Regions from separate parts of the Homo sapiens genome. Here region 1 is linked to region 2. Evidence: promoter capture Hi-C in 16 types of primary human blood cells and fetal thymus (Javierre and others, 2016). All regions are on one chromosome and are shown on one strand. The core of a region is centred on a gene start or on the middle of the fragment in contact, and the rest is flanking DNA. Distances in the headings are between cores, read along the strand shown. Region 1 holds the start of ASPH (aspartate beta-hydroxylase). Region 2 holds the start of RPL7 (ribosomal protein L7).

Evidence for each region. The method cuts DNA at HindIII sites, captures the fragments that hold promoters and counts their contacts. A CHiCAGO score of 5 or more calls a contact.
Region 1: a contact is called between the fragment with the promoter of ASPH here and the fragment with the promoter of RPL7 in region 2, in 1 of 17 cell types (naive CD8 T cells). The highest score is 5.9, in naive CD8 T cells.

Annotation. Positions count from the first base shown.
Region 1 is chr8:61,708,501-61,715,913 of GRCh38, forward strand. It overlaps ASPH (aspartate beta-hydroxylase), which reads right to left and starts at 6,092. Exons shown (of 25, transcript NM_004318.4): 1 at 5,769-6,092. The coding sequence starts at 5,871. MIR4470 (microRNA 4470) reads left to right here and starts at 6,288; the gene lies at 6,288-6,359. RefSeq lists silencers at 5,462-5,891, 5,932-6,301. The HindIII fragment of the contact is 6,840 bases long and covers 2,615-7,413 here.
Region 2 is chr8:73,288,245-73,294,916 of GRCh38, forward strand. RPL7 (ribosomal protein L7) reads right to left here and starts at 5,389. Exons shown (of 7, transcript NM_000971.4): 1 at 5,355-5,389; 2 at 4,445-4,553; 3 at 3,995-4,161; 4 at 3,529-3,666; 5 at 3,308-3,417; 6 at 2,799-3,008; 7 at 1,998-2,461. The coding sequence starts at 5,368. The coding sequence ends at 2,800. RDH10 (retinol dehydrogenase 10) reads left to right here and starts at 6,358. Exons shown (of 6, transcript NM_172037.5): 1 at 6,358-6,672. RefSeq lists enhancers at 4,641-5,349, 4,971-5,020, 5,031-5,390, 5,350-6,057, 5,511-6,000 and a silencer at 6,091-6,672. The HindIII fragment of the contact is 6,100 bases long and covers 4,139-6,672 here.

The DNA of each region.
Region 1 (7,413 bases), core at 4,842-7,341, about 12 Mb before region 2:
AAGCAGCCTGTGAAAGATAGGGACAAAAACTGTATATTAGAAGAATAATAAATAAGAAAAAGAAGTTACAGACAGGATAGAACAACAAAATAATAGTGACTCTGCACTATGGAATGGTAGAAATGGCTGTCAAACCTATGTAAAATATGAGAAAAGGCAGTTACAACAATGCTGGTTGTGAAATAAAATTATCAAAGGATATTCTCCTACTTTAAATTTAAGACTGATCCTTGGGGTCTTAAGTACAGGATGAGTCACTGGGTTCAACGTGTGGGCACACATGTAGGAGAGAAGTGCTGGCATTTCTCCAAGTACAGAGATAGTGGCTGCCCTTGGAAACCTGACTATAACTGGACAGCAACCACTCCCACCCCCCAGCCCCCCACCCCTCAACCAAGTCAATTCACCAATGCTCTCCGCTCTGGAGCACACATAGTATCTACGGCAGATGATGACAGTCACATGACTAGGCAAGTGACCTGAATCTCACAGGGGGCCGAATAGCCCAGATCCTTCAAAAGATGATTTTCTTTTTAAAAAGAGTTATTCACCAAGGGAGCTCAACATTTCCTTTGAGTCTAATAGGTTATCTAAACCAAATTTGTCCTCAGCTGTGGCCAATTTGATAGGAACTGAATTACATTCAGTGATTTGCCGTTAAAAGATAACCACATCAGCCAAAGGTAACCAAGACACATCCCTGAAAAACAAAGATCAAATGCAGGACAAAAGCCTGAAGCATCCCTCACATCAGGGGAATAAAATACTAAAATTTTAAAAATAATGACTAACAAGAAAATACCATCTTGGCTCCCAGCAGTACCAGAAGAAAGTATAATTAAAAAAAAGTTAAAGCACTGGCCTCCAGACTATACTCCCACAGTGGTACACAGGGAAGAAAAGAACATCCTGAATCCTTAGTCCTCTAATAAAAATGGCCAGAGCTGCAGGACCGAACCAGAGAAACTCATCACACCCACATGTGCAGTGCAGAGCAGACACTGGCAGCAGATAATGAAGCAAGCAGCCCTTGCACCTCCACATTTCCCGATAGATGGCTGAGGCTTTTCCCCGGAGGTTTAGGTGGGGTGTACATAGGTTATATGTACATACAGGGTTTATTAAAGAGAAGTTCATTTGAAAAACATTTTTGTACCTTGGTACAGAATGAAGTCAAGCCATTTAGAGGTGATATGGAAGTATCCAAGCCACAAACTAAGCTGCATATTTTCATGATATTAAAACAGTGGCTGGAGTTACCTCAAAAGACTAAATATATCTGAGCCTGGGTAAGATAAAATAATGTTACAGATTTCTGAGCCATTAAGGGCAAATCACCAACTTGAAAGTTGATGTGCAAATGGATACTTACACCTCCAGAAGCTGAGAGAAATGTATCGAGCAGTCCTCAAAGCATAGTATAAACTCTATCTCAAGAATATACATTTTACTTAACACAAAGATGCTATGGAACATGAAAATAAATAAATAAATAAGAATAAATCATCAAAAAAGTCAAAGCATGCAATGGCCTGATGACATCTACACTTTTATAGTCTCCAAAGTTTTGCACTCACCCCTACTATTAGACGTACTTTAACGGAAACAACTGAGAAACACAAAGCCATATGAAATCAGCATTAGTGATATCAAAACTCTGAAAAGAAAGTAGATAATAATTCTTTACATTTAAGGAGGCTGGGAACAGAGATTTTTAGCGATTCTTGGTTCTGATTCTTACACAGATATGATCCAGGTCATCATATTCCTTCTCCCAAACTGCACTAGCTTTCTGGAGAAAAGGGTTTTTCTATTGGAACCAGAGAGCTCAGGGGCTAAGTATCTGATATTAACTAACAACAAGATGGATAGACCCTATGAGCCTTTATCCAAGTTCCTCTGTTGATAACTGGCTGAAAATGAAAATGTCATACATTCATTTTCTAATAATCTCTATGAGACAGATTATTTTAAAGCAAGACTAAAATATAGTCCAAAATATAGAACTTTCACTTCCACAGACCACCAGAGGTTAACTGGTCTCTGGAAAATGTGTTCATAAACTCCCTCAGAACATTATTTAGTGCTTGGTTTCATATGATTTGGTCAGGATGGACAAAATGCTGTTGAACTGAACACAAAATAGCTGACGGTTCTTGCAGTGGAAGAATTATGGTCCTCCTATGTTTTCATCTTAGAATGAGTAATGGAGGATTAAGCAATTGGCTCTGATGGTCTTTGGCTAAAGAAAGAAAATTTTGCTAGGGCCTCTTCATTCAAGGGCTCCACAATGCAATCAGCAGTGTATTGAATCCCTCAGTTACTTAGTAATCTAAGAGACACTCAAAGTAGAAAGAAAAAGGAAGCTAAACTAAACTCAGAAGTGTGTTTCTAAATGACAAATACTCATCAAATGAAGCTGTTAATGTTTTACAGGCAGTACAGGAATATATTTCATTCTAATTAAGCCTAAACAAAAAGGCTGCTCAATCTACTGAGACACCTTGAGAGAGTTAAAAAGTAGCTAAGAGTTTTTAAGTGCTTATCTATCAATAGTTTTGAGTATATACAGACGGATTAAATAATAATTAAAACCTGCTGTTACATAACCCCAAGCTTCAAACTAAAAGGGGGATATATTCTACAGTGACACCTAGTGGCAAAAGTTAATGTAGTAGCAGGACACCCAGACAAAATAAACAGGGAGATGGAAAGCTGCTAGGAGATACAGGGAGTTAAGGGGTGATACTCAAAAGGGAAAAACTAAACAAACAAACAGAAAACATTACACATACGAGTGTCTACAAAATAAGCCCAAAAGGACATCATGATCCTTCTTTGTCAAACTATTTTCAAATCAATAAATTTGAAAAAGGCTTCCCCTGGGCCCAACTGGCCATGCAAGTCCAGTTCTATATGCAAAATAAAGGTAGGAAGTCTAATTTATTCATGTTTCTTTTATATTATAAAGAGTAAAACTGAAAAAAAAGTAAAATTGAACTCTGTAGAAAACCATTTTATCATTTTTCAGCTTAAGCTGAAGAAAATAAAAAGCAGACACTTGCTTTAAAAATCTGTGATATAAATTCCCCAAATTCCAGCTTCCAAACATCACTTTTCAGCAAAAAAACCACCAAGATAAAGTTTGGCCAGGAAAAAAAAAAGAAATCACCTTTTCCCTAAAATGCATGTTTCAAATGACTGGGTTCTTTTTTCCCCATACGTTTACACAACAACTTAAGAAATAATAATGTTTAATGTGACCAATGCCGTCATTTTCTGACTCTCAATGTAAGACATATCAAAAAACGTACTATTTGAACACATATACTTCTTCTCAAACTAAAATTTCAAATAGTGTTTCAAATAGAATTTTTGTCAAGGGAAATGTAATTGGTGATAGGACAAAAGCATAGTTTTCTCCAATAATTAAATGTAGTACTCATGGAGACAGCCAGAAGAAAACTTGATAATCTAGTTCAACTCCAATTACATACTAGAGAACCTAAAATTCAAGCATGGCAAAATGAATAACAAAACCTGGGTTCTTAGTCTCGGTTCTTCCAGTAATTAGTTGAGTTTCCATGAACTAAACAACCTTCAATGAACTCGGCAACTTCTCTGGGCATTAATTTCCTCATCTGTATGATTTGAGCAGGAAACTAAATGGGTCTCACAGTATGACACTGCTAAAAAGTCTTTGATTTTCCCAGTAGAAGGAAATGGTTCGCACAACGTCCGTACTTTAATGACCAGGTAAACAGCATTAAAAGAAAAGCCGGCTTTATCTTTCGAGTACAGCCTACTATACACGACACTGTACTTTAACTGTTTAGGGTGATGGAAGGAAATGGTTTCCATACCCAGTGCCTTCTATCTGGCACACAGTAAGAACTCAGTATCTACTGGAGAAAAAAAAGAAAAGGTTGCGGATATGCGGATAAAGAATACTCATTACGTCACATGCAGGGTTCCAATATCAACTTTTGTTTTCGTATCACGGGCATTCCTCCCTTTTACATATTCTTTTACATACTATGTCTGTTTCATGACTATTAGAGAATCAACGTGTAAAATGCTTAAAAGGCTGTAGATCCTCAAATATGGGCAGAGTTTGTTCTAAAATGCCTGACTATGAAAGTCAGGAGAAGTTAATTTAAGTTACTGCATTTTCTAAACCTATCTCTTGCCTGTTAAAATGCTTCAAATAGTTATGGGGTAGGTCTAGAAACGTGAGACACATTTCCCAGTATTAGTTCTCACCAATAAGAGGCCATATAAAGTGACTTCCCTCAGATGCAATCAGCCCTCTCCTCATAAACACAAAAATGAAATGGAACGAAGACATGCTTCTCTGGCAAATAGCTACAGAAACCTTTTGAAAACAACTAACATTAAAGTTGTTCATCAGCTTTCTCTGCTTAGTGCCCTTAGAGGCACAATGAGAAGAACCCATTCTCATTTAGGGATGTTAAAAAAGAGTAGCCTCAGTCGGCTGAGGCAATTAATCTATCCCTCTGCAGGTTTAAGTAAGTGACATTTAAGAACAAGTGAAAAAGGAACACAAACTTTCACTTATGTCAAAGGTGAATTAATATGCTTGCATTGAACTTCAAACTGTGTCTACATCTTTACTTTTAGAATACAAATATTAGTCCTTAGAATGTAAATTTGTGCAATGGATTTAATGCACTACTTTCCCCATTTAAATCCATTCATTCATTCACTACTCAAATATTTATTGAGCACCTATTATGGGAAAGGAACATTCTAGGAGCTGGGGATACAGAGAGAATGAGCCAAAGACAACACACATGAAAGTAATAAGACAAGTTCAGATAGTGACAAGTGCTATAAAGAAAATACTTCTTTGACTATAGCTGATTCATTTTCTTGGTATATTATGAATGCATGATCTGAAGATCTCAGAAAACAAAGAGTCTAAATCACTTCAAGTGAAGTTTACAGCTCACATTCCATACACATGTGTATTGCAGTTTCAATATCCCAAATATGAGTCAAAGGAAGTATAAAAGAAACCAAGAATCACTGAAATATGAGACGAAACAGATTTAAAAATCTGTTCTCTCTGCTGGATATGCACACGGACGAGGAGAAAGGTGAATATCCAATCGATTTTTATTTTAAGTAAAAGTGGTAAAAATACAGACGCTCGTTCAGTATTTCATGACATTCTATTTTAAAGGCAACTGCAACGCATATTAAGAAAGCTACATACAAGCAAAAATATTTAAAATAATTTCTGAGAGCATTCAAATCACTCCCAACTTCTTCCCTCCCCCTGCCCCCCGGCGCCCCCATTTTCACCTCCTTTGAGTTGCTCTGAAACGCTGCTGGTTAGGCAGGAACTCACTTTCCCTGACTTTGGCTCATTTTCAACTCCCCAAAACACGCAAGGCAAACGATAAATTGTTCTCTTACTCCCATGTTCAATTCCACGGAAAGCCAAGAAACAGTCGTTCAGCAACCTCTGTCTCGGCTGCGCCCTGCAGGTGAAGGAACCGCTGGGAAGGGGCTCCCCGAGACTAGCATCCCGAGGGCTCGGACCCCGGTCCGCCTGGCCCCTCGCCCGCCCGCCAGGCCCGCCGAATGCGGCCTCCGCCCCGCGCGCCTAAAGGAGGAGCGTCGCGGGGGATGGAGGCGGCGCGCGGTGGGACCTGGGGAGATGCACCCGCAGCGTCCGCCGCGCCAGCCGGCTCCCTACCCCGAGGCGAGGCCCCAGATCCCCGCCCCGCAGGGCCTCTGACCTCTCCGGGCCCCGGGGCTGCTGCTGCCCGCACTCGTGCTACCGCTGCCGGAGCCGCTGCTGCTGCTGTTGCCGCTGCTCTTGGCATTCTTACGCTGGGCCATTGCACGGTCCGCGGGGGCTGGTGAGGGCTGGCGGACCTCCTTCAGTGCGCGGGGGTACACACGCGACGCGGGAACCGCTGGCGGCGGCGGGCCGCTGGAGCGGGTTCGGGCCGCTGCTCCTGCAGCAGACCCTGTGCCTCAGCACCGCCTGCAGCACCTGGGAAGACTTCACCCGCCTGCCGGCTGCGCGCGCCCGGCCTCGCGTGTACGAACCTGTGACTCCCTCCCGGGGCGAGAGCGCGCGGCTCGCCGCCCGACGGCCACGCCCCTTCCCGGCCTCGCCCCGCCCCCGGAAGGCTGAGTGACGGCGCCTGGGACCCAATCGCAAGGGCCCTTACGAGGCGGCGGTACCCTGCCGCGCTCCCCGCCCCTGCTCACTTAGGGCTGTTCGGGCGCTACGCAGCTGCCTGTGAGCGCGAGCCTCTTTCGGCTTTCCAGTTTGTCTCGGTCCTTTGGAACGTGGCAAACGTGGAAGCCGAGAGGGCTCTCGCGAGCGTTGGCAGACCCCGCTCCATAGGGATGGGACAGGGCGCGGTGCGGAATAGGTGGACACGTGGGCCGCCCGTGGGCGGAGTGCGCCGCTTCTAGGCCTTTCACTGTGGATTTTGTCCCCTTTCCGTATACAAGGAAAGGAAGGAGTGCAGTCTCGCTTCTTGCGAAAGAGATCCCTATTTCTTGTCCTGATTAATACTAAGACATTTCTGGAATGGTGATATTAGGACTAGTTCAATGCTTAAACCGTAGTAGTTCATCCATTTGGTGCTGAAGCAGGAATTTAGTTCGTTTGTGCCATCAGTATTTTCAGATACTCTTAGTTAAGGAATGAAAATGCAAATGTGACACAAAAAGTTCATTTTCTTACCCTGGATGGCACCCTCTGTCTGAAATCCCTGGCTGCTTTGCTAACGCCTGGGCCTGTGCTGCCTGAGAATTCCCAACAGAGTATTAAAATGTCTTGGCACGTGGTTGAACCAGACAAGGACTTGAGATCAGCGACGTCTTTATCATCTTTGTGTCACCATTGCTAACACCATGCCCAATGTGTAACAGGCAAGCAAGAAATGCTTAGTGATTTGATACATTTCTGTCAATTGCTGAACCCACAGCTCTTGATCATGTTTCGTAGCAACCCCTGGGAGTGTCTCAGGAGGGCTCAGGGACCAGAGAGAGCAGTTGCATTGTGGCATCTGGTTTCATTCCTCTTTTCCAGCCCCACAAACCCACCCACCCGCGCCTTCAGAAGCACTCCCGCCTCCCCCCGGCCCCATGCCTTTTCACCTGTGGATGGTTGGATGCTGCTTGACCCTGCCCTGATGATGCACAGAAACCCCCCAAAGGTCATGTTGCAGAATAAAGAGAATGCCTTTCTTTACCTTTTGTCAAATAGTGTTAGGCTATTATCAAGAGACGGTGGGAGGGGAGAGTTCACAGAGTTTTTATTGAAGTAGCTCTCTCAGCTTTTATCTTGTGGCATCTCCTTCTGCATCCATATATCCTTTCTCCCATTCAGGGCCCCCTTACAACCCTCTATTATATTATCTC
Region 2 (6,672 bases), core at 4,139-6,638:
TCCCATGGAGGTGGGCCCACAAAGACACCAGACACCCCTAAGAAGCTCTATCACATCCTATACATCCCCAGGGCACTCATTTCACTGTATCTGTTGCCTGTCTTCCCATCAGACTGATACCTGAAAGCAGAGGCTATTTTCCGTAATTCACTGTTGTGTGCCCACATTAAGTGCTGAAGCTATACTGCACAGCAGCATTGAGCACTTTCGAGCTAGGCGCTGCTCTAAGCATTTTACAGGACCTGTTAACATTTAATCTTCATTAAAATCCTATGAAATTAGGCAAAATTATCTCCATTTTGCTGACATGGAAACCGAGACAGAGATTATTTATTGGCCCACGCTAACAAATAAGTGGAGACTAGATATGAACCCAAGCACTCTGGCTCCGAAGCCAACACTCCTAATCCAGCGAACCACAAATGAACCTTCAAAGAAGTTACTAACTAGGTTAACACTGGTTAAAGGCCAGTGAGTCCAAGACAACTTTATAAAAACTGAGATAGCTAAGGGACCATCCACTAGAGAAAGCCGGACCTTAGAAGGATGAACAGGAAATAAACATATATGAGGTGTAATCTTGTAGGAGAACCTACTGGGTGCCCAGACCCCTAAGGTTGGTTAGGCCTTCCAGAGGAGGATCCCTTGAAAGCAATGACATTTATAAGAAGTGAGTTTCCTAATCAGGTGTTAATCTGCATTTGAATAGGTTCCACCAGCTCACAAACATTTTCGTACCTATTATTGTTCCTCACAATCCTCTTATAAAACCAGATTGGTTATCCCACTTTACTCTGTTCTCTATGGGAATCCTGGTTCTCTGCAACCCCTCCCACATTTCCCCATCCTCCCTGGCCCCAGGCCACACTTACAATATGTGTCTGCATGGGCTATATATTTATATATTTTTTTTTAAAAAAAGCTTTGCTAAGTATCTCTCTGTATATAAAGTGCTTATTCCTATCCCAATGAAGACTTCCCACATTTCATGCACCCACCCACCTGCACCTAGATTAAGCAAGCAATACACCATCTGTACAACTTCATTCCATAATTAGTCTTAATTCTGACCCTGCAGAGGCCACTGATGGCCCTCACTATTCCTCTAAAACCTGGAAGCCAAACAGGCTCTGACATCTTCTGAGGCACAACTACCCTTCATGACACTGGATGTGCTAACACTGGGAACTGTACTCTCTATCTACCAAAGCAGTAAGACAAAACTGAATTTATAACTTAAAAACCCTCTGGAGGCAGTGGGTCATGCCTGTAATCCCAACTATTCAGGGGACTGAGGCAGTAGGATTGCTTGAGGCCAGGAGTTCAGTAACATGCTGGGGAATACAGGCTGGTGTGGATCTCATCTCTACAAAGGAAAATTAAAAAATAAACTCTTTGGCTCTACCTAGATATCCATGTACTATTTCAAAATATTGACCCAACTGCTAAGACAAAAAACATCTAGCAAAACACTGATACAATCATAAATATGTAAAATGATTTTTATAAACGATCATCTTGATTTCTCTCCAAAATTCACTGACCCTAAACAAACTTACTAAGCCAGAGAAATAGGTCCCAAAACCAGGAACAAAGAACTCAAAGAAATTCTATTTGTCTAGCAACTTTCGAATATTAAAAAGCAATAAATGACTGTGGAGCAGTAGTACCAAAATAATTACTAAGGGAGCTGTTTCAGTGTGTCAGAACTTTGACAACTAAATGAGGACCACAAACATTTTTACTCTCATTCTATGTACTTCATGTTACACTCTACATTGTTCACTAGTCTAGGTGAAACAATACATGAAGTATAAAGGAATGTTATTTACAAAAAAACCTTTGAAGTTTTTGCCCATTAATTTCATCAGATGCTCTGAAATAATTTGCATCCCTGGGCACAAATTTCATGCCTTCCTTCATAATACCCACAGTATGTAACAATTATTAGTAACTCACGTAAGTATGGCAAAAGATGCAAAACAAGAACACAAAAATGGAATGCAAAAGGAAAACAACACATTTACATGGCAGTTTATAAACAAGCGAAGGCCCGAGAAATAAATTTTAGCAACTAAATTCAATTTTTTCCATAAACCAAAGTTGGATTACCTTACCGACAAATCATGTACAAATGCTTGTGAAACAGGCTTTCTTAGAATAAACCCATTTCGAATCACTCAGCACAGTTAAAAAACAAAAAATTAAAATCTTTTGTATAGAAAAGCCTTTTAAAAACCCAAGAGATGTCTTTCACACAGACTCGACCCTGATTTTGCACGAAATGGGCTGTTGATTTGGCTTAATTTTATCACACACCACACTTGCCACAGTAGTTAAGGGAAGACAGAGGCAGGCTAACAACAACAACAACAAATCACAAATACAACAATATATTTCAATTTGAGAGCAGGTACTGTTTATTAACCAACCAGCTTAGAAAAATAATCATGGTAGACACCTGAAAGGAAAAAAGAAAACCATTAGAAAACACTTTAGGCAGCTAACAATTAACATAAACTAGGCAGTTATAAAGTAATGATTGAGTTTACATTTTTAAGACCACCCAATTTCCATCTTTAAAGACTCCCCAAAACAGGCTTTTCCTTTCCTCCAGAAAGGTCCTCAAAAGCAGTAAACAAACCAACTGTAATCATTAAGATAGTTGACCCCCACTCCCCACAAAAGCACTGATTAAAATTCAAACCCCCATCAATATTTAATGGGAAAAGTATTCAAGATTACCACCACTTATACTCTAACATTAACTCAACCTTTCTCAGGATGAGGTCTCTCACCTTAGTTCATTCTTCTAATAAGCCTGTTGATCTGGTCCTCCCTGTTGCCAGCATCTCCACCTTCTACAAAATGGGTGGTCTTTTTCTTCATTCCACCTCGTGGAGAAGACAATTTGAAGGGCCACAGGAAGTTATTTGCCTCTTTGAAGCGTTTTCCAACAGTATAGATCTCATGAATCAAATCCTCCATGCAGATGATGCCGTATTTACCTAAATATTTTAAGGTTATTTAAGATTATTAAAGTTGCAAAAAGTTTTGAAATAATTATTCAAAATCTTTTTGAATAGGCTGTGAGATGAAAACATAACCAGGAATAAACAAGGTAAATGCATGGCTTTACAAAGATAAGGTTCAAGCTAATGAAACCATGTCTTACGTTTTCTTTTAAGCTAAATCAAGAATCATAGGGAACACATGAAGATTCACAATAGTGAGAAATGTACGGCCACAAGAGGGTAAGAAATTATCGCATGGTCTAATACCAAATTTTCCCCCAAATAGAACCTACCAAGAGATCGAGCAATCAAAGCGTTATCTGTCAAAGCAATTCGCTTCTTATTGATTTTGCCATAACCACGCTTGTAGATTAGTTCATTTACTGACTTCAGATTGGGGTACCTGAAGTGAAAAAGCAAACATAAATAAGGTGACCACTGTTAAAACATCTAAAATTCATGTTGCTACATAACCAATTTATCAAATAGAAATCAAAGGAGAAAAGAGACTTACCCCCATGCAATATATGGCTCTACAATCCTCAGCATGTTAATCGAAGCCTTGTTGAGCTTCACAAAGGTTCCATTGAAGATTTGACGAAGGCGAAGAAGCTGCAACACCTTTCGAACCTTTGGGCTCACTCCATTGATACTGTGGTGAAAACGGACCAGAAATGCATTTGCCTTTCATCGAAATTTTTATTAATACTAACCATTATAGTTTTGAATATCGAATCCTACCTAAACAGATAGGAATCCTCTCATGTTACACACTGAATTTCTGTATTCTATTAAGAGAAGGGATAGGAGCTTGGGGAACATGGCTTGCAACTAAACCATTAGTGATCAGCACCCTCCTTGTTCTAGCTTCCCCTAAAATATTGTTACTCCGGTGTTTCAGAATCAGGGCTCCCAGAAGTAATGTGAAGGTTTTTTTTTTTTTTCCCATTCAAACCCGAATGCAGTAAAACTGAACTTACCCTCTGATTCTGATGACAAACGCCAATTTGGGTTCTGCAGGTACATAGAAGTTGCCAGCTTTTCTTGCCATCCTCGCCATTCGAATTTCAGTTCTGTACATCTGCCTATATTCCTTGTGATAGTGCTTTGCTTTTTCATAGATAAGCTTCCTCCTTGCCTTTCGAAGCTGAAAACCAATAATCAGTTATTCATAATTTTTAGCTCAATCACAATTAGCAATGCCAATCATTAAAAAGAAAACTACAACATGTTTCCTTTAAATCTTTTCTTGCCACAGTATGCAATTACATCCCCCACCAAAAAACCCCACTACCTTCAGATTGTAACATTAGGTAGCTAAGCAATTACTCAGTACAGTTAGGAAGTAAATCTTGCCAAGAACATTCACCTCATCCTCAATCCCAATAAGGCGCCTCCTTATGTGCTAGTGCCTCAAAAAGTTTACTTACCATCTTTTGGGCAAACTTCTTTCTCAGGCGCTTGATCTTCAGCTCTGCGAAATTCCTTCGCTTTTTCTTAAGGGTTTCTGGCACAGCAGGAACCTCCTTCTTCTTCTCTCTAACGTTAATAAACAAAAATGTTATCAATAGCTCAAAAAGCTCACAGCGCTGTATTACTCCCGTACTGAGCAGTGTTGTTTACCAGAAATGCTGTCACTGACTTTAGTCACTAGTAACTTTACTTGCTCTGGCATGCTACAGTGTACGATGCATATTTTAGCTCCATGTCAATAACCTTTAACACCATGTTGCCTAAAACGCAATCACAAATATGACAATAGCAATACGTTTTTCCCTATTTCAACCAAGAGGCCCGGCCTCCGACGACTAATTAAAAAAAAAAACAAAAAAAACACACCAACACCCGAATAACAAAATGTACTAGCTGAAAGACTACTGCAAGGCACTGACCCCGAGACTTTAAGCGCAAAAATTAAAAAATAAAAATAAAAAAAAAACAAGCCACCACCACTCTGGTTCAATCAGGATCCACATGTTGAAAGCAAAGGCCTGGCGGCAGGGAGGCCTGTACCAAGCACCAGCCAAGGACGAACACAATTCAGAGGTTCTGCGCCTCCCCCGAAAGACCCTCTACCGAGGACTGGGCCGTCAGCCAACCGACGGGTTCCACACACATTCCAACCCGACATCTCGTTCCCGGGATCTCCAAAACCTCCGTCCTAAGACCGCCCGCATCCCAACCCTAGCCTCAGGTCCCCACTGGTGTCACACAGCGTTCACAATCAAGCAGGGAGGTGGGCAAAGGTGCAAGCTACGGCCAGAGAGAGAAAAAGTGACACAAAAAGTATCTGGCTCTGGAGATGGAGAAGGATTCTCAAGAGGACCAGAAGCAACTCACTCTACACCCTCCATGGTTCCAGCCGGAAAAAGAGGAAGTTGGCGCATGCGTACTGTCCACTTAAAGACTTCGCGAGAGAAGCCCCACGACTCATAGGTGTCTTAGAATAAGCCGGAAAAGAATCCAGAACTAAAAAGCCGCCTTGCAGACGCAAAGAACTCCCTGATTTAGCCTCTTTCAACAAACTTTCGGGTAAAACTTGTTTGAAGAAAATATATGCATTTGATTAGACTTTTTAATCAATTCAAGAGCAAAGAGTGCTGACACCTTGGCAACTCCGGGTCCTAATCCCCAGGCTGCGCTGACAGGATTAGGCTCCGTTCCTCCCCATAATGTTCCCAGGACGAGCCTCATGGGGACGAACTACAAATCCCAGCATGCACCAGTCTTCGCCCGCCCGGCGGGAGGGCAACGGCTGACCAGGACCGCAGGCAAGCACCGCGGCGACGGTTCCAGCCAGGAAAATGAGAGCCTCTTGGGCCACGTTCCAAACGGCTAGCTGCAATTCGAAGTCACTTTTGGCCGCCCTCCCGGCTCCCTGCCGCGGTAGTCGCAGACTACACCCCTTTCGCCGCTCCGCGAGGTCCTTGTCGTCGCTCCAGCCCACAGGGCTGTCTTCCGCAGCGCCTGATCGCAGGCGGGGCGGTCTGGAGTGCTCTAGCTTACGAAAAGTGGCTAGCCAGGGACCAGTGGGGACCGGACGGCCGGAGGAGGATGGCCGGGGCTCTGCTGACTGCCGAGCTCGGCAGGCGGAGGCCAGGACACCCCACGGGAGGGGGCGTGAGCTGCGAAGGGAGGTGCGAGGAGGGCTGAGGTTGCGGCCACGGCCGTGTGAGAGGGGCTACCCGGCTCGGCTCCGCGGACGGCTGGCGGGCTGGGGGCTGGGCCGGGGGCGGGGTGCGCCCGGGGGCGGGGAGGCCGGGCGGAGGGAGGGCCGATGCCGAGGCTGGCGCGGGCTCTTCCCGGTCGCGGGGTTATATAGCGCGGAGCGTGGAGCCCGCTCAGAGCCGGCCCGGAGCGCTCTGACTTGCAAGCGGGCTGCGCTGCGGAGCCCAGTGCCCGAGTGACACCCGCGGAGAGTGCAGGGCCGGGGAACGCGAGCCCTCGGGGGCAGCTGCAAGGCGTTGGGCAGCGCTTGCCTGCGCCGAGCGAGTCTCCCCTTCCCGGCGCTCCGCCGCCCCGCACCCCACTCTCCCACCCTCTCGCAACTTGGGTCGAGTTGACAACTCCCGCGGCAGCCCGCTGGCCCGTGCCGCCTCCGCTGCGCACCCCTCCCCCGGGGTGAGAGGGAGCCGGCGCGCCGGTTCCGGGGACGCTC